Linked DNA regions of Homo sapiens: all the other regions are linked to region 1. The links are contacts of gene promoters, found by promoter capture Hi-C in blood cells and fetal thymus (Javierre and others, 2016). All regions are on one chromosome and are shown on one strand. Each heading gives the region's core, a stretch centred on a gene start or on the middle of the fragment in contact. The rest is flanking DNA. Distances are from core to core; before and after follow the strand shown.

Region 1 (2,982 bases), core at 297-2,796:
AAGAATTATTGGATGATGCACAGATATAGTTAGCATTTCTGTAAGTTATAGTCAGTGTTATCCCATTTTTAATTGACTGTTGAGCCATGAGTCAACTACACATTCAGGAATACTAGATAAAAGCTGTACGGGACGATCAGTAAAAGGGATTTAGGACTATAACTCACAGAAGCTCCACAGGGATAATCTGTTCCCATTAAACTGGGGAGAGGTTAAACACACACACACACCCCTCCAGATATATACTTCTTAACTATAGGGGGAGGAGTTAATTTCCAGTTAGTGCTTCAAAGTGCCAAATAATCATGCTATCTCTTCCCCGGGGTTCTGAAACAAGTAGGAAACAAATAGACCAAGAAGATTGGCGTTTATCAACTTAATTAACTAAGAAAAGCTAACTGGAAGCGCGCGTCTTGTTCTTGAGACTAAATTGGGCTTCCCTCTCCTGCCCTGATGCCTAGAAGGTTCGGACCAAGCCCAAGCAGGGCAGCCAGAAAGTTCACGTTTTTCTCCTTTCTGTCCCAGTGGATTTATCGCGGGGGGACAGAAGAAAGAAACAAGAAAGGCTCGAATGTCAAGTAGGCACTAAGAGTGAAGGGGAGAGAAGTACGGGGGACAGGGGACTCGCTAGCATATGTTTTGGGGATCTGAAACGCATCAAAATTAAATGCCCCGAAGCTCTACCCACTCAGAGCTCTGGTTATTAAAAGCCTGAAAACAAAGCAAAATAGAGCAAAACAACTAATTTCTATCCACTGGCCACACCGCAGAACTGCTGATACTGGCAACATGAAGACTAAAGCAAAAATAAAAACAAAGGAAAAGAGTGTTCGGGTCACGGTGTAGGTGAGGGTGCGAAATGAAGAACAGACCCTAATTCCAAGTCAGCTGGATGGACAGGCAAGCTCGTCAGCTGCTAGTAAACCGCCGCGGGCCCGCGGGCTCCGCACGAACCGACCAGACCCCAACACCGGGCAAGGGGCAGCCCCGGAGGCAAGCCGGGCCAGAACCACACCCTCCACGGAGCTGGCTCGTCCCCGGACCCGCCCACAGAGTCGCCCCGCCCAGGTCCGTGTGACTCCTGAGTCCCCAGTCCGGCCGGCCGCCCGCCCGCCAGTATACTTGGGGCGGGGGACGAGGGGGAACCTGCCCAGCAAAACGTCAACGCACCCCGCAGTTCCTACCTTACCAGCGCCGGCGGCAGTGGCAACTCCGGAGCCCCAAGCCAAAGGAGAGGGACCCCCGCCTCCCAACACACACACACACCCCGCCCCACCAACTGTATGCCTGCTGGGAAACGTAGTTCTGCGCCCGCATCCGCACTACCTACTCACCGCCCCACAGCGCTCGCTTAGATTTGCATTTACTTCCTCCGAGGCTTGAACTCCGGCCCCGCCCCCAGACTGCGCAGTGTATCCTGGGTGCTGTAGTCTTTGTTCGGTTTGGTGGTTGGCCGGTGGGCCGGAGACGCACCGTAGAAACCGAACCCTCTTACCCAATTGGACGCCGTCCCCAGTACGCTTCTGCGCAGTTTGTGGTGGCGTCGTAACGCCTCGGGGAAAGGGAAGCGGACGGGCATCTGGAATCGCTGCCTCTGGCTTTCTGTTTTCTACTAACAGGATTTGGTCACTGGTTCTTCATCTTTTGTCTGTTGCACGCATCCCGCCCTCCCCACTTGCTTCCCCACTCCTTGGATCCAGCCCTGTGGGCATTCACGTCAGTTCTCTGACCCCGCCGTGAGCCCCGCTCCGGGTCCCCGGGCGGGCTTGGCACGGAGGCGGTAACTATGGAGAATATGGCGGAGGAGGAGCTGCTGCCCCTGGAGAAGGAGGAGGTGGAGGTGGCCCAGGTCCAGGTCCCGACCCCGGCCCGGGACTCGGCTGGGGTCCCAGCTCCGGCCCCGGATTCGGCTCTGGACTCGGCTCCGACTCCGGCCTCGGCTCCAGCCCCAGCCCCTGCCCTGGCCCAGGCTCCGGCCCTGTCCCCGTCCCTAGCCTCTGCCCCTGAGGAGGCTAAAAGCAGTAAGTGCAGAAGGCCCAGATCTTTCTGCTGCAGAAGAGAGAAAGTGCGCCTTGCTGGGAAGTAGGGGAGGCCCTTCACCGGGATGGTTTTTATGGGGCAAGGCAGGTTTAGGAAAATGGTGGGGAGGAAAGAGGGGCCCGTGTAGCGGCTAAAGCAGGGTTACAGAATGGGAGACGGCATCTTCATAAGCCTCGAGGATGTCACGGTGAGGGATATGCGGAGAGCAGGAATGCTGCAGATAGAAGGAAATAATGAGGTTAAGGGCTTTTTCTTAAAAGGGAGTCTTTTTAAGGTACAAAAATAGGAAGTTACACATAATTTGGTAGTTTCCCGCAGTCCAGTCTGCCATGGTTAACTAAGTTCTTTCAAATGTGACATAGTAACCGAGGCAACCTGTTTACGGTAGTAGATCCTAGCTGCCAACATTTCTAAACCATTACTGTCAACTAGCTTTTCTGCTTCGACAGCCACAAGGAGATGAGTTTTTCTCATTTCAGTTTTCTTTTCCCCCGCTAGCAGCTTGCCTCCGAAAAGATTTTGAGGCTGAGTAGTAGTTTAGGAAAGAGTCGACTAAATTTACGGATGTTTTCCCCCATACATAAATACCAATTGAGTTTTGTACTCCATTCCATCAGAAATAGACTGTTGAGAATTAATGGCCCATATTATTGTGCTTCTGAATGTGCCTGCATGTTTTCTAAGTGGTGGTTTATTGGACCATATAGGAATTTAAAAGACTGATGAGTAACACTTTCTTAAGGATCTTCTAACATTTTAAAATGTAAGGTCTAAGAAAGACATAATTTAAGTTCTTTTAACATTTAGTTTGTGGTCATAAGTTGACCTTTATGTGCTTTCTGAATTGGAACTTAAAATAATCTTTAATTCATTATTTTTTCTACTTCTAGGCCAGTTTTGAGTTTAATATTTATAAAAGGTTAGATAGTTATAGATAGGATT
Region 2 (3,260 bases), core at 41-2,540, 1.1 Mb before region 1:
GCTGCACACAAACTGTTATGGAAACATAGATGAGGAACTGCCAACTCTACCCAAGGAATTCTTTGCAGATGAATGACATATAATCTGGAATCTAAAGGCTCCTACGGCTAAAAACTGGGACAGTAGCCAAAGGTGACAATAAGAGAAAAAATAATATAGCTCCACTTTTTCATTCTTCTTACCTACTTGTTCTTTAGTTCCTGATAACGTGGCTTTTTCTTCCTCCAAAACAGGGCTTTGTGAGATAAAAAGTAACCTTAAAATCATTCTAGTATAGCCTTTTACTAATGGGCCATTTTAGTAACCTAATAATAATAGAAAACATGTGTTGAGTGTTTATTTTGTTACATGGCATAAATGTATGACTTTATTGGGCCTCACAGTAATTTTTTTTTTGTTGTTGTTGAGACGGAGTCTCACTCTGTCACCAGGGTGGAGTGCAGTGGCGTGATCTTGGCTCACTGCGACCTCTGCCTCCCGGGTTCAAGCAATTGTCCTGCCTCAGCCTCCGGAGCAGCTGGGACTACAGCCGCCCGCCACCACGCCCAGCTAATTTTTGTATTTTTAGTAGAGATGGGGTTTCACTATGTTGACCTTGTAATCCACCTTCCTTGGCCTCCCAAAGTGCTGAGATTACAGGCGTGAGCCACCGTGCCCGGCTGAGCCTCACAGTAATCTTATGACATAATAGTTATTATTATTCATCCCATTTGACATTTGAGATTATCTGAGGCATAGAAAAGATAAATAATATGTTCAAGATTAAAAAGCTAAAAAGCCAATAAATGATAAATTTAGTATCTTAACCCAACCCTTGTCTGACTCCAAAGCCCATGATTTTAACCAACTCAATGACCCACGTGCTATAATATCCACGGTTAGTAATTTCCTTCTTTGTGCTCCTATGTAACTATTTGCATCTCTAAAACGGCATCTCACTCTTATCAATATCCATCTTTCTCACTATGCTGTAAGCTTCTTAAGATTTCAGAATGATTACATTTTGTAGCTTTTTCACAGCTAGCATGGCTTCTTCTCATACGTGATAAACTTAGGTTTACTGTCTTTCTTCTAACGGCCACTTTGCCATCATATGTCTGATTTCTAATCCAAATTGCTGCAGTATTGTGATCATTCAAGTCCGCATCACTTGGGTTCCAGATGTCAAGGAAGCATACTATGTGACAGCTCAGACAGGAACATTACTGACTTATTTTCCAGTAGCCAACAACATGAGTAATTTCCAACATGAGTGAGTGAAAGTGAATTGGGGTGCTATAACTCAGTATGACAAATACTTCATAATTGGGAAATTCAGAGAGTGGGAGCAAAGCCTGGGTGTGGTTGAAGGACCCATAGATAGGTGGGATAAGAGGGAAGTATCCCAAGAGACATTGTAGAAGACATTTCATTGAGTCATTCCAAAGCAGGAACACCAGGCTCTTTAAAGATATTGAGTATAATGCAGTATTGGCTGATTGCATAGTATTGCATAATAATCCATTTAAAATCCCTTTCCCCGTGATGGCAGCTAATTTCTATCAAAAGGATTAAGAAGCAGGACATTTGCAACAATTGTCTCCATGGAGCTTATGTTAAGCTTGATACAGAAAACTCAATCAGAAGATTAAAATTCAACATTTCCTCCTTTCTTTTGGTTGATTGCTTATGAAACAAGACTCCAGAGTATCTCTATATCTCTGGTAGCTCAATAAATGTTCTTGAATGAATTAACGAATAAATGTCACTGCTAATATTAGCACTTGCTCTGCCTGTCCCTTGGACTGGGGAAAAGGGCTTTGGTATTGACAAGCACTTGGGTTCATTGTATGTGTAACTTAGACCTCAAGATTCTTGAGGGGATGGAGAGCAGACACAGCATAAACGGCTACCTATTTATCCTTTTATTTGTATTCTGCTGTTTGTGCAAAGAAAATATTTATGGGAGGGGCACTGATAGAGACCAGACCCTTTGTTCCTCCAAGTCCTCCTCAGAGTAATATAGTAGAAAGCTTTGTTCTTTACAGAGGCAAACTCAGAGTCACAGCTATGCCTTGAGGAGTCCTATACCAGGCTTTGGACAACACCTCCACAAACCATCAACATTTATTAAGTATCAGCTAGGTGCCAGACATTTATTCTGATTAAAGCAAAACAAACATAAACAAAATAAAAATAAGGATAAATTCCTTTTTTTCATGCAGCTTGTATTGTATTTTACCTTTAAAATAAATTCTTAGGAGTGGGAACATCTTCATAATTCTTGATAAATATCAACAAATTATCTTGCAGTTTAGATTGTAAATTCATCAAAGGCAAGGATATGTTGTATCCCCAGCACTTAGTAGAGGACTTGGCACATAAGTGTTTGATAATATATCAGATTGAATTTAATGAAACTGTAGGATTGCCATTAAAAATTCTTTTTCTCCTAAAAATGAATTTGGTGCTTAGAGACACATACTGCTTCTTCTTTGGGACAGCATGCATTAATAGGCACGAGACTGAACTGATGGATGTGGCCTGTGTAGGCTGAAAAACCCAGCAAGGTAAGAAACAGTGCTGGGAAACAAATGACTTCTCAGAACTGAGAAAAGTTATGATCAGCCCGCCAAAGCACTGAAAACAGGAACTGCTCTTTACTTTGATCGTTTTTTCTGTTTTTTTTTTTTTTTTTCGAGACAGAGTCTCGCTCTGTCTCCCAGGCTGGAGAGCAGTGGCGCCATCTCGGCTCACTGCAAGCTCCGCCTCCCGGGTTCAAGCCATTCTCCTGCCTCAGCCTCCCGAGTAGCTGGGACTACAGGCGCCCGCCACCACGCCCGGCTAATTTTTTGTATTTTTAGTAGAGACAGGGTTTCACCGTGTTATCCGGGATGGTCAGGAGACCTCGTGATTCGCCCGTCTAGGCCTCCCAAAGTGCTGGGATCACAGGCGTGGGTTCACCGCACCTGGCCCTCTAGTTTGTTTTTTTAATCTTAAAGCACATTGCTATAGATATGAATGCTAGCAGAAGAACACAGGAGGTCAAAGTTTAGGAGAGTAGCCAAAAACTAATTTTTTTCCCAACACCCTTTATCTCTTCCATGCTTCTTGCAGAAGAGGAATGTGGAGGCCTTAAGGAGAAGATAAATGAAAGGCCAAAAAAAATAAGTCGTGATGTAAATAGATGACACAGCTTGCACATAACCAACTATCTTATACCTGGTAGAGGCAGGCAGGAATGTCAGAAAGGAAAAAAGTAGAGTAATTTATATTGATGT
Region 3 (2,864 bases), core at 72-2,571, 1.2 Mb before region 1:
ATGCCTGGCTAATTTTTGTAGTCATTTTGTACTGAAATTTTCACATGACTTAAACTGGAGCAGATTCATGTTATTCTTGTACTGTCTCCCTCATTTGTGTCTTGAATGGAAGAGAGAAAGATGGATGTAGCCACTGAGCCAGGAATTTTACATACCCATAGCCTATCTCATCTGGGCTAGAGCCCGTGGTTTGGTTACTGGTATACTATTTAGTAGTGTGACTGTTGTGAACTTTTTATAGTACTGTGCTTTCCTAAAATGTTGTTTTGAGATTTATCAAAATCTGGACCATATATTTCTTATGAGTGTCAAGAATGTGAACATCCTTGTCAAAAGGAAACATAAGAAGAGGAAAATCATAAACTAAAATTGGAACATGTCATAGTGAGAAAAGGAATGAGGAAAAAACAATTTGAGCTCTTTTCCCCCCTGCTCCTTTGAAAAATATATATGGTAACCAAATCAGTCTATAATTTTTTGTTTAAGGGAGCTCTGGATTACTTAAGTGATAAAATAGATTTAAAAGAGTGGATATAATTTATGATTGACTGTAGGATCAGTTTTGTATTTTCTCATTTTTCTTTTCCTTAGTATTAGTTCAGAAGCAGGCCTAGAAATTGATAGCCAGCAGGAAGAAGAGCCGGTTCAAGCATCTGATGAGTCAGATCTCCCCTCCACCAGCCAGGATCCTCCTTCTAGCTCATCTGTAGGTGAGTCCCTGCCCTTGACTGCAATACAGTTTTTATACATCAAACTTGTTTGTGAAAACACTGCTTTATTAGTAACAAATTAATAATCCTTTTTTCCTGTATTTTAAAATGCTTTATTTAAAAGAGAAATTTTATTATTAAAAGGAACTTGGTTTATATTGAAATAATTATTCTAAGAATATTCTGGCATCAATAATAAGAAATATGGACATGGTGGATCCATCCCAAAAGAATAGCTCACTCATGTTTCATCTAGACTATTGGTTGTCAACATATGTTTTGTAGAGCTCTTGGGTCTTTTAGAGGTGCTACAGGGGTTGTAGTGGGTGGGTATACTGGGAGGGAGGCTAAGGAGTGCTAGGGCACTCCAGGCCTCTTGCCTCTGTTTGAACCACAGCAGCTCCATTTTTATGTGTTCTACATATTGGGGTTCTACATGAGATTTGATGTGGAGAGTTAAGGGGTAAGAGCTCAGTTGCTTAAAAAAATTGTTTGAAATTTACTGATGTAAACAGTTTCAGAGTTTGGCTTTTCAAATTTTTGAAGTTATTTTGAAAAAAAGATATGTATTATTCCTGTAATAGAAGTTATTTTTTAGAATAACAGTTAGCATTTACTGAACACTTAACTGTGTATCATGTAGTATTCTGAGCCCTTTACTTATATTTCCTTATTTGATTCTCGCAACTCAGTGCGGTAGATATTCATCCACATTTTATAGATATGGAAGCTGAGGCACAGAAAGGGTGAATAACCTCTTCAAAGTCAAATAGCTAATAAGTAACGGACAAGCAACGATTACACTGAAGAAGTCTGGCTCCAGAGACCCCACTCTTGAACAATACACTATACTAGCTCATCTATCTCAAATTTTTAGACAGAGAATTACCTTTACTATTAAGGATATACAGTACTTGGTCATTCAGTCTGATTATTTTAATTTTTAATTGTTTACAGTGGTAATTCTCAAACTCTGCCATGGAACCTTCAGATTTTATGGCAGACCTGCTCAGTTATTTATTACTTTTTTAAATCACAGAACTTTGCTATCCCAAAATCTCTTCCCCTGATTCTCAGCTGCTTTGATGTGACACATCAGCCTATTGGTTAATATCCCTAATATCTACCGTTTCATATCTGGTAACTTTAAATTTCTATACATTATGTAATATGGATACTCATAACTAATCTTGCAATCAGGATTTAAAATAATGTATGTAAATTACAGAACCATTTCATACGCAGTAAGGCTTAAAAAATGTATAACAATCATATTAATGATTACTGAAGTTTTGTGCCCCCAGTTATATTTTGACGTCCCATAAAAATTGGCTTTCCTCAATAGAATTAGCACTTGTTATATCTTATCAGAGCTTGTATGAGAAAATATGGTTGTTTCCTTTAAAGTATAATATGAAATTACGATGTCTTTAAATTTATTTGATAATGTAAAACTGTACTTCCCCCATCTGAGTATTCATTTGGTCAACAAATATTTGACAGTGTAGCAGGCAGTTTCATAGGAAGCATCACTAAGAGAAGGTGACATTTAAGAGCTGAAAGAAGAAAGGGATCAAAGCTGTGCAGTTACTTAATGAAGAGCATACTAGATCAAAGAGAATATTAATAGATGCCAAGTCCATAAGGCAGCAGTGTGTCTGCTTGTGTTCAGGGTCAACAAGGAGGCCACTGTGGCTGGAGCACAGTGAGTGAGAACAGAGAGTAGCAGGAGATATGTTAAGAGGCGGGAGAGGATAGATCGAGTAGATCATTGTAATTGCCTTGGCTGTCATGGATACCAGAAGCTATTGGAGGGCTTCACACAGAATAATGACATGACATGATCTGATCAGTTTGGCTGCTGCATACAGAAGAGATTAAAAATGAATAATGGACAGAAACGAGAAACTTTGGAGGCTACTGCAGTAAGTCAGGAAAAGATAGTAATGGCTTAGGTGAGATGGTAGAGTTAGGATTGTGAGAAGTTGTCAGATTTGGGATATATATTTAAATTTGAGCATTCATGATTTGCTAATGATTGCATTTGGGGTGTCTGAAAAAGAATCAGATATAATTTGTGTTCTGTTGTAGGCTGTTTGCTGAGGGACTTGATATTTTGTTTTCTGTTGTATTTCTCAGCACCTGGCAGTATGT
Region 4 (3,110 bases), core at 443-2,942, 1.2 Mb before region 1:
CATGTTGTTTTTAATAATAAATGAATTTTTACATTTGTTGTTAAATATTGGCATGATTTTCAGGTGAGGAAACTGGAGTTAGATATTTTACCCTTACAAGAAGCAAATGCTGAGCTGAGTGAGAAAAGCGGTATGTTGCAGGCAGAGAAGAAGCTCTTAGAAGAGGATGTCAAACGTTGGAAAGCACGTAACCAGGTAAATGCAGTTAAAACTCTTCCAAAACATGGAAACACGTGTTTTTAATAATAGGGGAAACTTAGGGGAATAAAAATATTTGAGGAACTAGTGAAAATTACTGTGTTTATTAGTGAAAGTCTATTATGTTATTAATACATGTAAATACGTGACAGATGTTAAACTTATAACCCAATTTATAAAAAATTTTGGTTATATTATATATATTTCTAAAAAGCAGTTATTTTCCATAATTTTAAAGTTTTAGCCTTTCATTTTATCTCTAAAATATTTTTATACATGAAAATAGAAATCTGAGGCCAGACACGGTGGCTCATGCCTGTAATCCCAGCACTTTCGGAAGCCAAGATGGGAGGATTGCTTGAGCCCAGAAGTTTGAGACCAGCCTGGGCAATGTAGTGAGACTCCAACTCTACAAAAAATTAAAAATTAGCTGGGCGTGGTGGTACATGCCTGTAGTCCCATCTACTTGGGAGGCTGAGGTCAGAGGATTACTTGAGCCCAGGAGGTCGAAGCTGCAGTGAGTTGTGATCATGCCACTGCATGCTAGCCTGGGTGAGAGAGGGAGACCCTGTCTCAAAAAAAAAAAGCAAAATAGGAATCTGTATAATTTATTGAATTTATTAAAGCACTTTAAAAAGACTTGTTCACTGGAACGTTTTTAGGGAGATGAAACCATGTAACATACTGTGGTTCGAAACTCCAGCCCTTTATTCAAACAAAAGGTTAGAAATCTGCCTTGCATGTATTATTTATATGACTTGGGAGAGTTTCTTAACCTCTTGGAGCTTTAGTTTTCCCTTATCACCTTTCGTGTGATAAAAATTTAACAAATGTGAAGCACATTACCTGGCATCTACAGAAGGTTTGTGTGTTTAACTTGTAATGCATTGTCTATATTTTTTTTCTTGTAAATGTCACTTCAATGAAATTAGGTACTTAATATTGAAAGTTTTGATTCTTCAGATCCCTTTATTTGGCTTCATTGTAACTAATATGAAATGTTTATTCACAAATATGAAAAAATAATGAACATTTAATGACATTTTATTTTTTTTTCCTCTTGTATTGTGGGTAGACTTCTTAGCCAAACAAGCCAAAGCTTAGTTTGATCTTAGTATCTTGTAGTTCCATGCTTGATTACTTTACATGCAGGACACCTAATATAAACATAATCAGATATTCTGCCATTTTATTATAGCACATTTGTTTCATAAAACCTAAAAAAATCAAGTATGCATTTTTGTTATTCTAGCATCTAGTAAGTCAACAGAAAGATCCAGATACAGAAGAATATCGGAAGCTCCTTTCTGAAAAGGAAGTTCATACTAAGCGTATTCAACAATTGACAGAAGAAATTGGTAGACTTAAAGCTGAAATTGCAAGGTATATGGAAAGAAGCCTTAAATCATATATAATATAAAAGAAGTTTATTTTACTTATTTACATGACTCCCCAAGTGCCTGCCTCCTGGTTTTAGAAAGAATGGAAAGTGCTAGAGCACCTATATCTGACTTCCATCTACTTTGTAGAGTCAAGCAGTGATTTAATATTATGCCTTTGTATATAAAATATATATGAGACTATCCTCATAATTATTTCTCTATATTTTATTTTTTAAAGAGCTACTCAGAAGTCTAAAGCTAAATTTACAGCTATCAAAAACTTACAAGGAGGTTTTTTTTTTCTTTTGGTTAGCTTATATTTGTGACTCTATAAGGGAAGTGGGTTTTATTACTTTGGCTTTTGTGTTCCTTTTTGTGGAGAACAGTGTTTCCCTCTGTTGCCCAGGCTGGTCTCAAACTCCTGGGCTCAAGCTGTCCTCCCACTTCTGCCTCCCTAAGTGCTGGGATTACAGGCATGAGCCATCATGCCTGGCCAAGGGAAGCTTGTAAGTCTAATTTTTTCTCACATGAACTAATAGCAAAGTATTGCCCCTTTAAAATTAAGAAATTAAACATTAAAATTAATGTTTCTGGTTTACCTTTTGTAAGCTTTAGTGTAATTTGTCCATATCATGGTCCCATTTATATATTGCTTTACAACTTACAAATTTTTGTGATATATATACGTACATTCTCTTTATAGCAATCATCTAGCATGTTAAGTAGGAGAGTTATATTTTAATCTTAAAAATGAGGAGCCTAAGATTCAAAAAGATTGACTACCTAATTCAGGCCATCTGATTTCAAGTTCAGTTCAGAATTAACCCATACTCTTAATTCAGGCCATCTGATTTCAAGTTCAGTTCAGGATATAGGACAGGGGTTGGCAAACTGTAGCCCATAGACCAAATGTGGCCCATGATTTGGTTTTGTACAGCCTATAAGCTAAGAATGATTTTTATATTTTTAAAGCATTGTTTAAGAAAAATACAGCAAAGACTTTGTGGCTTGCAAAGCATAACATTCTATCCGGCCCTTTTACAGAAAAAATTTGACAATACTCAGTGCAGTAGGAAGAGGGTAGGTTTTGCTCTTAAAGCAAGTCTGAATTAAAATCTGGGTACCATCACTTGATTTTAGTTTGTAAAATTGCGCATGTTACTTGACCATTGGTAGCTCTGTTTTTCTCATCTCTAAAATGTGCATGTAAACCTATGTAATAAGATCTTGCCGAAGGGCTGTAAATTCGTAAGGTCTTACCTTTGAAGTATATGGGTATTTTTTAGGATTTTCAAAAAAAAAAGTTATTAAAGCAGTATAACATAAAGTTACATTGGACTTCAAACTTTGAAAAATGTCTCATATATTTAATCTTTCTTCTTTCCTCCATTTTTTAAAGATCAAATGCATCTTTGACTAACAACCAGAACTTAATTCAGAGTCTGAAGGAAGATCTAAATAAAGTAAGAACTGAAAAGGAAACCATCCAGAAGGACTTAGATGCCAAAATAATTGATATCCAAGAAAAAG
Region 5 (2,929 bases), core at 170-2,669, 1.2 Mb before region 1:
CACTAATTGAATGTAAAATGAAAAAAAAAGATGAGTGTTGAAATAGGCAATTATAATGTCCCCAACTCTCATTTAGCTTTAAAATTCCATGATTCTTTATTTATTGGAGAAGGGGTCTCACTATGTTGCTCAAGCTGGCCTTGAACACCTGGGCTCAAGTGATTCTCTCACCTCAGCTTCCCAAGTAACTGGGACTACAGGTGTGTGCCACCATTAATTTTTCTTTTCTTCAAATTAAAGACTGGAGCTAATTACTAACATTTTTGAATTCCTTTTAGGAAATTACAGAAAAATTGGGTTTAAATAAAAAAATTTAATTCACTATCATTAGAGATTAACTGGACACAAAAAATTAATTTGGGGCAACTAGAATTTATATAAACTATAGAACAGAGACTTTAATTAGAATGAGAAATGATAAGTGATTTTAACTAAAGAAATCAAGCATGTCACCCATTTAGCATTTCTTATTTAAACGTCACACAAGACTTAAGGCAATATATAACAACATATAAAATATAGTAATAACAAATTGAAAGTTAAAGTAGAATAGTGAGATAAATTTGTGTCAGAAATAAGAATTATAAAAATGCATACTTGATGTAAGGGGTGGTAATACATTTCGGTCTAAGCTTTCTAACAATAATGTGCAGAGAGAAATCTAATCTGTAACCTAATTCACATGGTCTGTAAGCTAAAAACAATCATCAGAGGAGGCACAACCTTCTTCATAATATAAAAAGAAATTCTTCCGGAAACACAATATTAATGTAATATGATGAATAAAGTCCTTAACAATAATGGGTGACACTGACAAGTTTTATAAGGCTGTTTCTTGTAGTGTTTGTCAGTGTAGCCAGTGGAAACAATTAGATAATTGAAACTCAGTAATGTCAGAGATAAAGCATTTCTAAAGTTTTATATACTTTTTAGGAACAAAAGATACAAAAGCAAGGAAAGTGGGCCTGGCTGTATCTCTCTAGCACTGGGCCCACATTCAACCCCCTCAATTCAGCACCAGCCAAAAAAGGTTGCACAATGAATGCTATTAATATTAAATACGCATAGATTTCGGTTAAATTTCAAAATGCCAAAGAGAATGAACAATTGTAAACAAGGTAAATTTATTTAAGATGGAAAAGTTGGCAGAGGGTTAAACAATTTAGCAGGGAGGAGAATATCTCCATTTTCTTCCCTTACTCCCTTAGGTGCAAATATCAAAGGCTTGAGGCTGGGACATCTGACAGGACAGGTTACAAGACTGAAAAAATCTGTAACATCTGAAGTTCTCAGCTGTATATTTTTTACCTAAAAAATGTTTTTCTGGGATACTGTTGGGGTTGGGTTTTATATGTCTCAAGATTTTAAGGTTCCCCCTCTTTTGGGGTATGAAATACCCTTCAAAAAGTTCATGTGGATCCTGAATGCTAAAAGAGCTGGCTACACAGAATCTACCTTAGGTTTGGGTTTAAGGGAAAACAGCATGTGGACCTTCATATTTACTTTTACACTATGTTACCCAATTCTCTGGTGCAGCAATTAAGCAAAAAACACAGGAGATTTCTGATAGATACTGTGTCCAGGAATAATCTGATTGTTTATGTTTTACTCTCAGGATCTCCGGAGAATTGAGAAGAAGGTAAAGAATTTCAGCACCTATTAATTTCATGTTACAGTAATCACTAGGTACTAAATGGAAGGTGTGACAGAATACTGCTATTGCATAAGAAAAACTGTTTAAAGCATTATAATTTGTTTCCTAATAGTCAGAAATTACCTCTAAAATAAAGATTATTTTAAAATATGTAGTTTTTCTGTCAAAAAGAATTACTTCCACAAAGATGCCTTTTTTACAACAAATTATTAGATCCAAGTGACTTTGAGTTCTTAATATTATAATTAATCATTTGAATTTTTCAATATTTTACAATGAATTATTTGTTTGCATAATTTACATGGAATTACTGTCATTAGTCATGGTTATTATTGAGAAGTAAATAATTTAACTTTTTAACTTGAGGAAAGAATAGCTTTTTCAAATTTGTATGAAATGCCATATGGGCTGATGATAGCCCTGTTTTGGGTAGTGTACTAAATAAAGAATAAAATTACCCATGGAAAAAATAATAAATAAAATGTGTAGTTTTTAAAAATATAAACATTTTTTACACTCAAGATATCCAAGCAATTGAGTGACAAAAGCTTTTTCAATGTAACCCCAACAAAAAGAATTATGGAAAACAAATGTAAATATGCCTAGAATCATTACACATACTCATAATCAGTAAAAATAACATATAACTGATTTCATTAAGAATTTTCGATATATCAAACTTACTCTACGCAGGGCATTTTGAAAATCATTTGCCAGTTCTAAAGTAGTAATAATAAATACTCCAAGAACTAAAAGTCCCCCTGGTAGCATTCTGGATACCTAAAAATAGAAATATATTATTAGCTAACAAATTGGCATTATATGCAATCCTTTCTGTTTGAGAAACTGTCTGCTTAGCATGTCCTTAGCTTTTCACCTTAAAACTACTTTATAAATAAAACTATCTGATAACAACATCCTTTAGCTACATCAATAAATAAATCCTTTTCTCAGGAGATCAAAGACTGAAATATTTTTTCAATGGCGTCCCACCATCAGCTAAATAAAATGAAGTTTTATTTTAGATTGATATTTCAGACTTTCTAGGATCTGGTCAATGATGTTTATACCCTCATTTGACACTACTTTTCCTCAAGTAATTCAAATATTTGTCAAAAACTACTTGAAAAGTAGTGTCAAATGAGGCTATAAACTGTTTTCCATACACATCCTAGGCTTTCTAACTATGTGTCTTTACTCAGGGTGTTCCCTAGGCCGAAACTGACTTTTTCTTATACTTCTGCATGTCTCAACCCTACTGGATACTTCAAAGGC
Region 6 (3,012 bases), core at 355-2,854, 1.2 Mb before region 1:
ATTAGTCAATGGGAAGATGTAACTGATGTCCTATTAGGGGAAGCTACCAACAAAAATATGTAAATATAAATTCCTTAATTGGATCTATGTTTTATTGATAGATTGGACATCTCTTTTATTCAACAGAAATTATCTATTGAATGCTGACTGTAGTCCAGGTATTATATCAAATGTGATACAGTTGGGAATTTGGGTGAATCCACATTGGTAGTCATTTCCTTAGGGTAGTTTTATAAGAATGACAGTTTGAATATGATCACAGGGATTGCTGACAAATTTGTTAATTAAAGTGGTTGCATGCAATTATTTTTTAACCAGATACAACTTTATACTTTTGCCATTGCTTTTTTAAAATTTGCATTTTATTTGGTGTTAAAAGATAATTTCTTCACATTTCTGAAGGGAAAAAAAAATTTACTTCCAGAATCTGAATAGGCGCAAAAAAGCCTCGTAGTATACCTAGAAAGGCTTTGTAAGAAATGTATTTATATGAAGAATGACTCAATACCCAAGAAAACTCAAATACTTCTCTGAAAACTGTGAGAATATACCTTTATAAATGAAGATATTGCAAATTTCTGGATGGAAATGTTTTCCAAATTAATGTGTTGGTAATACATTTTGACTCTTAAGTCCAAGTCAGATAGCCAGAAACTTGTTAATGTAGTTCTAAAGATGATTGGGGAAAAAAACATAGTAATAGCTAGGATGCTTCTAAAAAAAGGAAGTATCAATTTAAATTAAGTACTTGCATAGCCACATATTCAAGTTTTATAAAGCTATGGTTATTAAAATATTACAATGCTGATATAAAAATCAGTACAGAGAATAAAAGGCAGTCCAGAAATAAAACCCAATACGGAGGTTCTTAATCTTTTGGAAAGAAGCAGAGCTGTCACAAAATCTTTATAAATCTTGTAAAAACTATGGATCTGTAACCGAGGAAAATAGTGTGCACACAGTCACATAAAATTTTTCAGAAAAAAAAAACTATGAAGTGACTTAAAAAGTAATAGAATTTATTTAACTGCTTGGTGGCTGAAAGAAAGAAACTGAAAGCTTTTTCACTAAGATCCAATGCAAGGCTGGGATGCCCACTCACCACTTGTATTCAGTATAGTACTGGACGTACCAGCAAGAGCAATCAGACAAGAAAAGGAAATAAAATGCACCCAAATTGGAAAGGAAGAAATAAAATTATCTTTACTTATAGATTATATGATCCTATATGTAGAAAACCTGAAAGATTCCACAAAAACCTGTCAGAGCTAATAAGTGAATTTATACAATTGAAGGATACAAAATCAATATTAAAAAATCTAGTAGCATTTCTATACACAAACAATGACCTAGCTGAAAAAGAAATTAAGAAAAGATTTCATTAGAGTACCATCAAAAAACAACTTAGGAATAAATTTAACCTGGGAGGTGAAAGATTCATATACTGAAAATAATATAACATTGACGAAAGAAATTGAAGATGCAAATAATGGGAAAGATATACCATACTCATAGATAAGAAGAATTATATTGCTAAAATGTCCACACTATAAAGTGGTAAAAAGATTCAGGCCAATCCTGTCAGAATTCCAAAGGCATTCTTCGCAGAAATAGAAAAAAAAAATTCTGAAATTCTGATGGAATCAGTTTTAAAAATCCTGAATAATAACCAAAGCAGTACTGAGCAAGAAAAACAAAGTTGGAGGCATCATACTTCATGATTTAGAAAACTGTTATAAAACTATAGTAATCCAAATAGTACAGTACTGACATAAAAACAGAAAAGTGACCAATGGAATAGAATAGAGAGCCTAGAAATAAATCCAAACATATGGTCAACTAATTTCAACAAGGGTGCCAAGAAGACCCAATGGAGTTGTGATCGTCTCCTCATTAATGGTGTTGAGAAGACTGGATTTCCACATTTGAAGAAATGAATGTTGGATGTTTGTGTTGCTTACATCATATACCGAAATCAAGCCAAGATGGATGAAAGATCTAAATGTAAGACCTGAAGCCATAAAACTCAGAGAAGTGAACATAGGGGAAAGGTTCTTGACATTGGCCTTGGTAATGATTGTTTGGATCACATCAGTAGTTCAAGCTGCAAAAAGAAATAAACGGAACTACATCAAACTAAAAAGCTTCTACACAGGAAACAAGAATATTAAAAGGCAACCTACAGTTCTGACATAGGTAGCTTGAGATAGATATTTCTAACTCAAAAACATGTAGATTGCCATTGTTTTGCTGGGAAGCAGTTTGACAAGTTTTTTGTTTTTGAGACAGGGTCTCACTCTGTCACTCAGGCTAGAGTGCAGTGATGCAGTCTTGGCTCACTGCAACCTCTGCCTCCCGGGCTCAAATGATCATCCCACCTCAGCTTCCTGAGTAGGTGGGACCGCAGGCATGTGCCACCATGTCTGGCTGTTTTTTTCTACTTGTAGAGACTGGGTTTCGCTGTGTTGCCCAAGCTGGTCTTGAACTCCTAGACTCAAATGATCGGCCCAGCTTGATTTCCCAAAGTGCTGTGATTACAGGCATGAGCCACTGCACCTGGCTGACAAAATATATTAAAAGTTTTAAGTAATTCAATTTTTAGGAATCTTTCTTGAAAAATAATTTGAACTAAGGTGTAAATACAGTGATATTCTAAGTTATTAGGACATTTCCATGTGATTAAAAGAGATATGAGAAAAATTTTCATAAGCCTAGTAAAAATGTTTTAAAAATCCAAAATTTAAATAGAAACATTGGAATTACGGGTATTTTTTAACTTTGATGTGTAAGTTATAAGAGAAAGCCAGTCATTTACACTACAGCTGATGTTAACTAAAGTGACAATTCTATGTTCGCTTTCCTGTATTGCTCTACTTGATTTTCTTACTTATTACTTCTTTATATGACAGAGCCAATTTACAAGAACAAAGGAAGAATTAGAAGCTGAGAAAAGAGACTTAATTAGAACCAATGAGAGACTATCTCAAGAACTTGAATACTTAACAGGTATGA

Evidence for each region. The method cuts DNA at HindIII sites, captures the fragments that hold promoters and counts their contacts. A CHiCAGO score of 5 or more calls a contact.
Region 2: a fragment that was not itself captured here is called in contact with the fragment with the promoter of TRMT1L in region 1 in 1 of 17 cell types (naive CD4 T cells); the score reaches 6.5 in naive CD4 T cells.
Region 3: a contact is called between a fragment that was not itself captured here and the fragment with the promoter of TRMT1L in region 1, in 2 of 17 cell types (fetal thymus and activated CD4 T cells). The highest score is 6.0, in fetal thymus.
Region 4: a fragment that was not itself captured here is called in contact with the fragment with the promoter of TRMT1L in region 1 in 4 of 17 cell types (non-activated CD4 T cells, total CD4 T cells, total B cells and 1 more); the score reaches 6.3 in non-activated CD4 T cells.
Region 5: a contact is called between a fragment that was not itself captured here and the fragment with the promoter of TRMT1L in region 1, in 2 of 17 cell types (activated CD4 T cells and total CD8 T cells). The highest score is 10.0, in activated CD4 T cells.
Region 6: a contact is called between a fragment that was not itself captured here and the fragment with the promoter of TRMT1L in region 1, in 2 of 17 cell types (total B cells and naive CD8 T cells). The highest score is 6.3, in total B cells.

The regions. Positions count from the first base shown.
Region 1 is chr1:185,155,517-185,158,498 of GRCh38, reverse strand. It overlaps TRMT1L (tRNA methyltransferase 1L), which reads left to right and starts at 1,546. Exons shown (of 15, transcript NM_030934.5): 1 at 1,546-2,021. The coding sequence starts at 1,787. It overlaps SWT1 (SWT1 RNA endoribonuclease homolog), which reads right to left and starts at 1,332. Exons shown (of 19, transcript NM_017673.7): 1 at 1,185-1,332. RefSeq lists silencers at 940-1,059, 1,800-2,049 and enhancers at 1,600-1,709, 1,553-2,458. The HindIII fragment of the contact is 11,948 bases long and covers 1-2,982 here.
Region 2 is chr1:186,288,313-186,291,572 of GRCh38, reverse strand. No RefSeq gene overlaps it. Among named protein-coding and RNA genes, the nearest start is that of PRG4, 6.3 kb to the left of the region's middle. The HindIII fragment of the contact is 625 bases long and covers 978-1,602 here.
Region 3 is chr1:186,315,328-186,318,191 of GRCh38, reverse strand. It overlaps TPR (translocated promoter region, nuclear basket protein), which reads left to right. Exons shown (of 51, transcript NM_003292.3): 49 at 592-710. Among named protein-coding and RNA genes, the nearest start is that of PRG4, 20 kb to the right of the region's middle. The HindIII fragment of the contact is 5,178 bases long and covers 1-2,864 here.
Region 4 is chr1:186,338,113-186,341,222 of GRCh38, reverse strand. TPR (translocated promoter region, nuclear basket protein) reads left to right here. Exons shown (of 51, transcript NM_003292.3): 29 at 64-195; 30 at 1,451-1,581; 31 at 2,980-3,110. Among named protein-coding and RNA genes, the nearest start is that of TPR, 36 kb to the left of the region's middle. The HindIII fragment of the contact is 786 bases long and covers 1,300-2,085 here.
Region 5 is chr1:186,385,493-186,388,421 of GRCh38, reverse strand. ODR4 (odr-4 GPCR localization factor homolog) reads right to left here. Exons shown (of 14, transcript NM_017847.6): 4 at 2,339-2,434. Among named protein-coding and RNA genes, the nearest start is that of ODR4, 11 kb to the right of the region's middle. The HindIII fragment of the contact is 1,570 bases long and covers 635-2,204 here.
Region 6 is chr1:186,367,880-186,370,891 of GRCh38, reverse strand. It overlaps TPR (translocated promoter region, nuclear basket protein), which reads left to right. Exons shown (of 51, transcript NM_003292.3): 4 at 2,910-3,006. Among named protein-coding and RNA genes, the nearest start is that of TPR, 5.9 kb to the left of the region's middle. The HindIII fragment of the contact is 1,085 bases long and covers 1,062-2,146 here.